2 separate regions of the Homo sapiens genome follow, and region 1 is linked to region 2. Evidence: promoter capture Hi-C in 16 types of primary human blood cells and fetal thymus (Javierre and others, 2016). All regions are on one chromosome and are shown on one strand. The core of a region is centred on a gene start or on the middle of the fragment in contact, and the rest is flanking DNA. Distances in the headings are between cores, read along the strand shown.

The links. Contacts are between HindIII fragments. The CHiCAGO score rates a contact against its expected background, and 5 or more counts as called.
Region 1: a fragment that was not itself captured here is called in contact with the fragment with the promoter of GGN in region 2 in 11 of 17 cell types (naive CD8 T cells, non-activated CD4 T cells, naive CD4 T cells and 8 more); the score reaches 10.5 in naive CD8 T cells.

Annotation. Positions count from the first base shown.
Region 1 is chr19:38,918,540-38,923,863 of GRCh38, forward strand. SARS2 (seryl-tRNA synthetase 2, mitochondrial) reads right to left here. Exons shown (of 16, transcript NM_017827.4): 3 at 3,699-3,728; 4 at 2,988-3,128; 5 at 2,853-2,907; 6 at 1,547-1,610; 7 at 1,223-1,328; 8 at 227-274. Among named protein-coding and RNA genes, the nearest start is that of CCER2, 9.0 kb to the left of the region's middle. RefSeq lists an enhancer at 1-470. The HindIII fragment of the contact is 441 bases long and covers 1,233-1,673 here.
Region 2 is chr19:38,384,521-38,389,632 of GRCh38, forward strand. GGN (gametogenetin) reads right to left here and starts at 3,514. Exons shown (of 4, transcript NM_152657.4): 1 at 3,455-3,514; 2 at 3,241-3,302; 3 at 901-2,760; 4 at 1-9. The coding sequence starts at 2,741. It overlaps SPRED3 (sprouty related EVH1 domain containing 3), which reads left to right and starts at 4,177. Exons shown (of 6, transcript NM_001394336.1): 1 at 4,177-4,287. RefSeq lists silencers at 3,310-3,549, 5,009-5,112. The HindIII fragment of the contact is 15,577 bases long and covers 1,944-5,112 here.

The sequences.
Region 1 (5,324 bases), core at 203-2,702, 530 kb after region 2:
GAGGCCAGGCCACAGGGATCAGGGGACAGGTAACCCTGGCCTCTCGTTTTACAGTCCCAACCCCAGCTCCTCCCCTGAAAACATCTGGAGCTGCCCTGGCCTCCCTGGTATGGCCTGGCCCCCTCAACCCAGCCCCAGGGCGGTCTCCTCAGGTTTCCCTGCCTCGGGCACCCACGGCAGGGCCTGACACCCAGGTGGGCGAGGGAAGCGGAGAGGCCTCACTCACAAACACTGCTCCGCGGAGAAGGTCTGGCACCGTCATGGGGGTGAAGCCCTGTTCAGGGGAGAGGATGAGTGAGCAGAGCTGGGACCCCTACCAGACCCCAAGCTCAGCCCTGAAGAAGGGGTGCTGCAGAGCCCCTTCCTCCTCAGACGAAACTGAGGCAGGGGCTGGCGCAGTGGCTCACCCATGTAATCCCAGCACTTTGGGAGGCTGAGGTGGGCGGATCACTTGAGGCCAGGAGTTTGAGACCAGCCTGGCCAACATGGCAAAACCCCCTCTCCACTAAAAAGGCAAAAATTAGCCGGCATGGAGATCGTGCTACTGCACTCCAGTCTGGGTGACAGAGCGAACTCTGTCAAAAAGAAAAAAAAAAAAATTAGCCAGCATGGTGGCATGTGCCTGTAATCCCAGCTACTCAGGAGGCTGAGGCAGGAGAATTACTTAAACCCGGGAGGTGGAGGTTGCAGTGAGCCAAGATTGCACCACTGTACTCCAGCCTGGGTGACAGAGCGAGACTCCGTCTCAAAAAACAAAAAAGTACAGATTTGGCCACACCCTCCCCTGCTTAAAAGCCTCCCATGGCTCCCTAGTACCCTCTGAAAATGTCTGAGTTCCTCACCGTGACCAATGCTCCATGCAACCAGTCCCTGCCATGTTTCAATGGATGCTATGATTCCCAAATGCTCCCTTTATACCGCAAGCAGGCAGTGAGGTGCAATGATTACAAGCACAGGCTCTAGGCCCAGCTCCAGACTGGCTGTGAGACCTTGGGCTATAGGTACCTCCCCTCTCTGGGCCTCAAGCCCTCTCTGTAAAGTGGGGATGATGACAGCACCCACTTCATAAAGTTGTCGTAAGGACTAAATGTGTCAATGATACACATGAAGCTCTGAGAGCAGTGACTAGGGCAGAGCAGAGATCACTCCCATCCCCGTTGGGCCCTCTGAGCTCAGCTTCGATGCCACCCCCTCCAGGCAGCCCTCCTATCTTGGCCCATACCCGGCGGAGAAGCTTGTTGAATGTGAAGTTGACCAGGCCGTGCTGCAGGAGGGCTCCAGCCCCGCGCAGGTAATAGGACCGGTGGCCAGACACGTGGGACAGGCGCCTGGGAGACAGACAGACAGGCGGGTGCACATGGGCCAGGCTGGCAGGGAATGTGGGGATGAAAACACCCGGGGGAAGAGGCCCGGCTGCTGGGTGGGGCTGGGGCATCAAAGATTCATGGCATTTCCACATCTCACGCTGAGGCCAATGAGGCAGGAGCCAGCTGTCGGGGTGCAGGCAGCTGGGAGAGGGGCGTGGGGAGCCAGGGGAGGGGCTCACTTCTGACGGATGATGTCGAGTTTCTCGCCAATTTCCAGGTGGCCCCGAGGTTGGAAGGAGAAAACTGGATGTGGGTGAAAAGCACCGGTGTAAGGCAGCGGGGAGAGAGGGATGGGGCCCAGATAGAAGCTTCCAGAGACAGCAGAGAGGAGGGACGGTGAGAGAAAATAAAGGAGGGGCAGGAGGAGAGAAGGGAGAAGAAGACACGGAAAGGGAGGGAAAGGGAAGAAAAGACAGACAGGAAGGGAGGGAGATAAAAACAGAGACAGGGAGAGGAAATGAGAGGAGGCAGAGAGGGAAATAAGAGGGCGCGGGGTGGGGAAGGCAGAGTTAGAAACAGAGGAGAGAGGCCAGAGGAGAAGGAAACACCACGAGGAAGGGAGGAGGAGAATCAGAGAGGAGGCACAGAGTTGGGGAGAAAAAGCCCCGGAGACAGGGACCAAAGCAGGGGGGTCAGAGAGAGAGACAGAGACACACACACACTCACACACATACATACACACACAGAGATACACACAGAGGTACGAAGACACACACACATATACAGACACACAGAGACAGACACATACACAGACACGCAGAGACAGACACACAGATACACGGATACAGACACACAAAGACAGACACGCACACACAGATACACACAAAGACACAGATACACAGACACAGATACAGACATACACACAGAGATACACGGAGATATGCAGATACACACACAGACACACAGAGACAGACACATACACACAGACACAGAGAAAGACACACAGATACATACACACAGATACATAGACACACACAGACACACACACACACAAACACAGATATACACACACAGAGATAGACACACACATAGACACACACACACAGACACAGACACAGATACAGACACACACAAACACAGACACACACACACAGATACAGACACACACAGATACACAGATACAGACACACACAGATACACAGATACAGACACACACATACAGATACAGACACACAGATACAGACACACATGACACACAGTCACACAACACATACATACACGACACACACTCACACACATACGATACAATCACACAACACAGGGTGAGACTGCCCAATGGTGAAGGGGGAGAGAATGAAAACCCAAGGACCGCCTCTCAGAGACAGCTCGAGCTCGGCCAAGGCAGGAAGCTGGAGCCACCTCCTGTACCGCCAGGAGTTCTCCAGGCTCCAGACATGTTCCCAGACCCCAGGGGCCCCCACCCCGAGACCCCAGAACCCCCACACCGCAGGGCTTGTCAGCTCCCAGGCCTGGGGTGTGGCCCACCTGGCTTGTCTCCGACCATGTGGAGCACTCGAGCCTGGCTCTCATCCCCGACGGGCTGCAGGGAGACAGCAGGAGTCACGGAAAGGTGGCACTAGGTGGGCCCCTGGCCTCCCTGCCACCCAGCACGGTGCTCACCACGTCTGGGTGGGTCTGGTTGGGCAGCTTCAGCGCCTGCAGGTAGAACTGCTCCTCAAGCTGGGCCTCCCTGGGGTACAGGTGAACAAGCTCCTTCCGGATCTCCCGGCCACGTGCCCGCAGACCCTGGTACTTGGGGTCCTGGGGGCAGCACAGGTGGGCTCAGCCCGGGAGAGGGTCAGGACTCCCTCATCCAGTGTGACCTTGATCCTGACCGGCAGAGCCCCTGTGGTGGACATTCATGCCTCTTCTCCAGGCCCAGGATCCTGAACGTCTTCGCAGAACTTCCCTTACCACCACATGGCAGGTTTGTGGGGAAAAGAATCAGGCCTGGCCAACTAGAACGTTCTATTGCCTTGGCCACAATGACTGGCTCAGAGACAGGCACCTGATGTCAGCTGAACTCATGAGAATCAGCCCCAGGACTTTAACTGGAACTATCAGGAAAGCGTGCTTGACTTTGCCTCCTACTTACACAAGGAGAGAAAGCTGGCCTGGGAATGGGAGGAACGTAGGACCAAATATGGAGCCAGCACCTGGATCCAGCCGCACCTGAAGCCAGTTTTAGTTTCATGCATCAATAGAGCCTATTTTTTTTTTCCCCTTAAACCTGTTTGAGTTGTTTTCTGTTACAATAGTAGAATCGTGACTGGCAGGGTATCCTCCCTGCCCACCCCCAACCCTGGATAGGACATCAACTCTTCACAGTACCTGCTGCACTTCACCACTGTCCTGGTTTGCCTGGTAGAAAAGAGACAGGGTGGGTGATTAGGTTGACAAAGTCGAGGGTGGGGAAGAGAAAAAATGGTGAAAGGTCAAACAAGGCCAGAGGATCTTAGTCTCCTGCTCTGTCAGTGCCTAGCTGGGTCCCTCTGCAACTCTGTGTTTCTGTTTCTCTATTGCTAACGCTACAAGGAGGCAAGATAATTAACAGTAATCACAGCCGCAGATCCGTATAGGAAGTGATGCCTCCATGCCAGGCTCTATGTACAGGGCTCTCCCATGCCATGATTTCTTCAAAATCCACTTTAGGAGGTAGGCATTCGTGTAAACCCTGTGATATGGTTTGGCTGTGTCTCCACCCAAATAATATCTCAAATTGTAATTCCACCTGTTGAGGAAGGGACCTGGTGGGAGGTGATCGGGTCCTGGGGGCGGTTTCCCCCATGCTGTTATCCTGATAGTGAGTTCTCACGAGATCTGATGGTTTAAAAGCATTTGGCAGTTACCCCCTGTGGCTGTCTCCAGCCACCATGTGGAAGGGAAAGTGCCTTGCTTCCCCTTCCGCCATGATTTTAAGTTTCCTGAGGCCTCCCAGCCATATGGAACTGTGAGTCAATTAAACCTCTTTTCTTTATAAATTACCCAGTCTCAGGTATTCTTTTTTTTTTTTTTGAGACGGAGTCTTGCTCTGTCGCCCAGGCTGGAGTGCAATGGCGCGATCTTGGCTCACTGCAAGCTCCACCTCCTGGGTTCACGCCATTCTCCTGCCTCAGCCTCCTGAGTAGCTGGGACTACAGGTGCCCGCCACCACGATCGGCTAATTTTTTTTGTATTTTTCGTAGAGACAAGGTTTCACCATGTTAGCCAGGATGGTCTCGATCTCCTGACTTTGTGATCCACCTGCCTTGGTCTCCCAAAGTGCTGGGATTACAGGCGTGAGCCACCGCGCCCAGCCTGATCTCAGGTTTTCTTTTTTTTTTTTTTTTTTTTGAGACGGAGTCTCGCTCTGTCGCCCAGGCTGGAGTGCAGTGGGGGGATCTCGGCTCACTGCAAGCTCCGCCTCCCGGGTTCACGCCATTCTCCTGCCTCAGCCTCCCTAGTAGCTGGGACTACAGGCGCCCGCCACTACGCCCGGCTAATTTTTTTGTATTTTTAGTAGAGACGGGGTTTCACCGTTTTAGCCGGGATGGTCTCGATCTCCTGACCTCGTGATCCGCCCACCTCGGCCTCCCAAAGTGCTGGGATTACAGGCGTGAGCCACCGCGCCCGGCCTCAGGTTTTCTTTATAGCAGTGTGAAAATGGGGCCAGGCGTGGTGGTTCACAAATGTAATCTCAGCACTTTGGGAGGCTGAGGTGGGCAGATCACCTGAGGCCAGCAGTTGGAGAGCAGCCTGGCCAACATGGAGAAACCTCATCTCTAAAACCTTGTACTAAAAATACAAAAATCAGGCCGGGCTTGGTGGCTTACGCCTGTAATCCCAGCACTTTGGAAGGCTGAGGCGGGCGGATCACGAGGTCAGGAGATCGAGACCATCCTGGCTAACATGGTCTCTACTAAAAATACAGAAAAAAAATTAGCTGGGCGCGGTGGCGGGCGCCTGTAGTCCCAGCTA
Region 2 (5,112 bases), core at 2,264-4,763:
GTGCTCAGCCTAGTGGGGGAGGGTAGAGTCAGCAAAGCCCAGCAATGGGACCAGGCCTCTAGCCCTTCTAGGGCCTCCCTGTCCCCATATGAATAGGGAAGCTTCTGAAGGCTATATTGGAATATCCCAAAGGCAGTTTAGGGCAGGGCTGTGGCCACTTAATAGGAAAGGGAGCTGAGGGCTGGCGAGTGTCCCAGCTAAGCTTCAAGAGGTCCAGGGCAGTCTCCCAGTGGTTCAGCACTCCCAGGAGTCAGTATCAGACCCCAGTGGCCAGATCTGGTGATTCAGTGTGGGTAGGGGGTGGCTGGAGGATGCATTGTCCCCCTGGATGTGGGACTCAGGAGGAGCCTCCCCAGCACAAGGGCTGGGACATCAGTGCCCTCTGGCGGCTGAAGCCTTGAGTCCCAGAGTCAGGAGAAGTCCTCAGAGGCTAGAGGGGTCAGGAGTCCAGGGCTGCCCCTGTGCCCAGTAAAGTTGGAGGCGTGCATCTACCCCCATTTAGTTCCAGGAAGACAGTCATCCCCTCACCCCCATCCCTGAGTGGCCTCGGACGTGGTCCTCCTTGATACCCTCAGGGACAGGGTCAAGGCAGTGTATAGGGTCAGGCCAGCTGGGACCAGCCTCCCTCTCTAATGGCTCCAAGAGAGGTACAGGAGGGCCAAGAGTCCACTTAGGGATTGGATGCCATAGGGCTGGGCCAGGGTGTCCCCCTTTCCCCGTCAAAGGTCAGCATGGGATCATGGGTCCTCTTGGTCCTGAAGGGTGGGAGCTCAGCTAGGTTTGAGATGTGGCAGAGATGAAGGCCACGGGTCATTCTAGGGTCAGGAAGCCAAAGGGCTGAGTAGGACTCTATCCAGCAGTCTGGGGTTCGGCACCCTCCTGTCCCTTCTCCCCTCTCACCAGGCAGAGACGTTGCGTGGCAGGCGGCGATGGCGTGGCTGGTGGTGGCAGTAACACTTGCAGGGACAGGAGTTAAGCACCTGGAAGGGCAGCCAGTGGCGCGCAGCGCGGGTGTTAGCTGCCCCAGTCTGAGAGGCCCCGCTGCCACCACCCCCTCCACCACTGCTGTCAGGCACGGTAGCTGTAGCTCGTTCGCGAGGACCATCTCCATGCAAGCCATCCTTACGGGTCGCGCCCCGGGCTGCACGGGAACCCTTGTTCCTGCGCGTGCGGGTCTTGATGGGCGCAGCCGCGGGTGCGGGCGCGGACACAGGCGGCGAGGGCTCAGCCACGGTGGGAGCTGGAGCCGGGGATGGGGCCGGGGCCTGGTCGGCGGCTAAGGCTGGGGGCAGAGCAGGGGCTGCGGTGGGAGCCAGGGCTGACTCCTTGTGGCCCAGACCCGGGGTGAGCGGGGGAGCCACCGGCAGCGGCGTTGGCTGGAGCGCTGGTGGCTGCAGTGTGGGCGGCGGTGTGGGCGGTGGCAGCGGTGGTAACTCCTGCAGGCCTGGAGGCCCCGGGCGCATGGGCTCGCCATTGGTGGGTGCTGGGAAGATGAACGTAGGCGGCGCCAGCAGGGCAGGTGCGGGCCTCCGGGGCCCGGGAGCTGAGTGTATCTGCTCTGGTGGTGGCGGAGGGGAGCCCCAAGGCCCAGAGAGTGCGGCCGCACGCCGTCGCGGCGCCCCGATGCCTCCGCCAGCCCCGTTGAAGCGGAAGTGGCGTTCAGGGCCGTCGGGAGCGCTAACCCAGTCGAATTTGGGCTTCGAGCCTGGGAAGGTGGTGTAGGGTGGCGGCGGTAGGGCCCGGGCTTGGGACGCAGGCGCCGAGGGAGGACCAGAGCACCCTTCGCCGTCTCCATCACCTCCCTCGGCTTCCTGTGCCCCTCGAGAAACCTCTCCCAAGGGGCGAGCGGCTCCAGGAGGCAGGGGCCCTTGCTTCAGGACCTCGGCGTAAGAGATGGCACCTGAGGCAGCAAAGAGGCCGCCGCCTCCGCCGCCCCCCAGCGAAGCTTTGGCTGCTAAGGAACTCGAGGCTGCCGGAGGGGCCAAAGAGGGCCTCGACTTGAAGGTGATTTTACACAGCAGGCTCAGACCGGACTCGGAATCCGCAGGCTGGGCCATTTCGCCTTCGCCCGCATGGGGAGGCGCCCCTCCGCGAGCCCTGCCGGCCGTCTGGCCCTGGTTGCGGGGCCCAGCCTGGCTTTCTGTCGGGGGTGAGGCGGGTGTGGCCAGAGCAGGAGTGATTCTGCGGTCCGCCGGCTGCCGTTCAGAAGGTAATGGTGGTGGCGGCTTCCAAGTCTCCAGGGGCGGCGGAAATTGGGATGGGGCCCTCGGGACAGTGTCCTTCACGGATAGTTGCCGGGGCGGCGGCGGCGGCTTCAGCGGGCGGAGGCTCGGAGGGTCGCCCTGGCCGCGATGGCTCGCCTCCAGCAGGCGGCGGATCCGGGGAACTGGAGTGCCCGCGGGCTTTTGCCATTTAGACGGGCCGGGCAGCAGAGTCCCCGCGGGGGCCGGGGGTGGTGCAGAGACCGCGGCCGCCTCTTCAGGAGGGGGCATCACTGGAGAGGGCCGTTCTAAGGTGAGGGGCAGGGTCGAGGGTGAGGCCTGGGGCTCCCGGGGTACCATGAGTCCCGGGGGTGTGGCGCTGCCAGGGAACCAGACACCCAGCCCACGAGTCAGGCGCATGGCCTGGGAGGTCATCTCGGGCTCCACCAGGGACGTCCGGCGGGAGTCGGGGGCGCGGTCCGAGGGCTGCACTTTTCGGGAGCCCCCGCCCGCGGATGGCTCCGACTGCAAGTTCCCCATTTCTGACGGAGCTCGGAGACTAGTCAGAAAAATTTACTCCAGTCAGCCTGCCAGGGCCGTGGGGACCCTACGAGGCTGGCTGTACTTGATCTAATGCGTCCGCACCGGCCCCGCCCCTGTTCTCCAAGATCCGATCAGGCCCAAGTCCTTAGGTCGCACTCCTGTTCCCCGACCTTCGACACTCACGCCTTCTTGCCCATGTCCCCAACACAGCTGCTGTTAAGATACTTCACTACCAGCCCCATTATGTACTAAGGTTCCATGCCTGTCCCCTTGGCTGGTCATGCTGATCCCTCAGTCCTCTCCTCTAACTCTCCGACTCCCCGCCTCTCTCTAGAGCACCTGGGTCCCGCCCTCTTCCCAGGCAGGGGCAGATCCTCAGGCCTCACCCCTAAACCTCTTCCCGCTCCAGGTCTACTAGCTGGCATCCACAGTCAAGCTCCACCCCTGTCCCCAAGCTCCGCCCTGGCCCCGCCTCCCCCCAGAGGAACCCACTCACCGAGTCCTCCAGCCGAGCAGAGTTCAGACCGCGGCGCCCTGGGCCCGGGGCAGGGCAGGGAACTGCCGTAGCAGAAAATAACCGAAAAGAACGGGGGTGCGGGTGAAGGCAAGTGGGCGAGACAACTAGGGCGGACCCCGAGATGTAGGCCCCGCCCCCGGAGCTCGAGGCCCCGCCCTCCTGCGAGCCCGCGGGAGCCCGGCCCCTTACGAACCTAGGTCTCCCCTTGAAATACTCCGAGGTCTTGTTCCTCGCCCCCAGGCCTTCTGGTTCTAAGCTCCACCCCTTTGGGTTGTTCTCCTTAGCCCCTCCCCTTTAGAATGTCCCGCCCCTCTCATTCCCTCCCGAGGCCCCGCCCACGCGAACACCGATGCGTCGCTCCTCCCCTTTGGACCTCTCATCTGCCCCGCCCCTAAGGCAATTTACCTCTAAGCTCCGCCTTTTTAAGACCCGGCAACATCGCTTCTCAAGACCCTCTCCTTCCCCCCGGGCGCCGAGAAGGCCCATCCACCGTGGGCCCGCCCCTTCGTGACGCACGCACTAGTCCTCGCCTGCAGCATCCAAACCTCCTTATACCCAGGCCCTCCAACCCCACCCACTTGTGAAGGCTCCCCTCTCGCCCCACCCCTTATCGAACTCTGCCAGGCACCCAAGCCACAGCGTAGACCACCACCTCTTTAGAACCTTGAGACCAGTCCCTGTCCCTGCCCCGTCCCCTCCTCATAGCATTAGAGACCAATGGCGCAGATGGGTGGAAAAGTGGGGGATCCCCTCTGGATCTTAAGAAAATGGGGGCTGGGGGGTTGCTCTCTGGAGCTAGTGCCGGGCTCTAGGACCCAGCAGGCAAGTAAGCCCGCCTCGCTCTTACCCCTCCCCCAAGCCGCCCCTTCCCCCCCCACCCGTCTTCCAGGTTCCCCCTCCCTCCCCCCTCGCCCCGGCTCCCGGTGCCCGTCTCCAGCGCCGCCGGAGCCAGCCAGGGAGCCGGAACGAAAAGGAGGAGGAGGAGGCCGCGTCGCCGCCGCTCGGAGCCCGGCCGGAGCCTCGCAGGCAGGTGCCGAGGGGGGCGAGGGGGCGGGGGCTGACAGACTGCCTGCCCCGATGAGGGGGCGGCCGTGACCGCGCTGCGCCTTCTGCCCACCCAGGCGCCCCCAAGGCCCCGGCTAGGAGGACTAGAGAGTGGGGACCCCCCAAACTGCGCGGCAGCCATTCAGGGTACCAGTCTTCATTTGTGGGGTCTGGACTTTCTCCGAGGATGCCCCATTCACAAAATTCCGTCCTGGACCCTCACCGTTGAGGAACGCTGAGGACCACTCCCCCCGGGGGACACAGGATGTGTGGGGAGCGTAGGCCACCCTGAAATGCCAGTGCCCCATTCCAGCTAGGCCCTGGGGGGACCCCTGCTCTCATTCCCTGCTTCACCTGTTGTCGGGGGAGGCGGGCGGACAAAGGAAGCAGCGTCACGTGACTGCTCATTCACAAAATCCCATCCCATTGAGAAAAGGGGGCTGGGGGCGCTGCAGCCGCCCCTTCCCCTCCTGAAGGGCCCGGGAAACCCAGCAGCCTGCAGGTGGGGGAGGGGGCTAGAGCTCGTCCGGGTCCCTAAGGTTGGGACGCCAGGGTCCCTGTGCTGGATGGCAGTGAAGGGCTGGACACTGATCCCGATTACTGGGCGGAGGGCTACGTCCTCTGAGCTGGGGGGCGGGGTAAAATGGTTCTGAAGGATGCTGGGGCTGGGGGGCGGGAAGGGAAGAGGGAGGAAGGATCAATCTGCCCCCCCATCCCATCTTTCCCCCCTGGCTTCCCTCGGCTGGGGCCTGGGGGAGCAGCCTTGATTTTTGTGAATGAAATGCTCTCTGGATGTGTCTTCGGTCG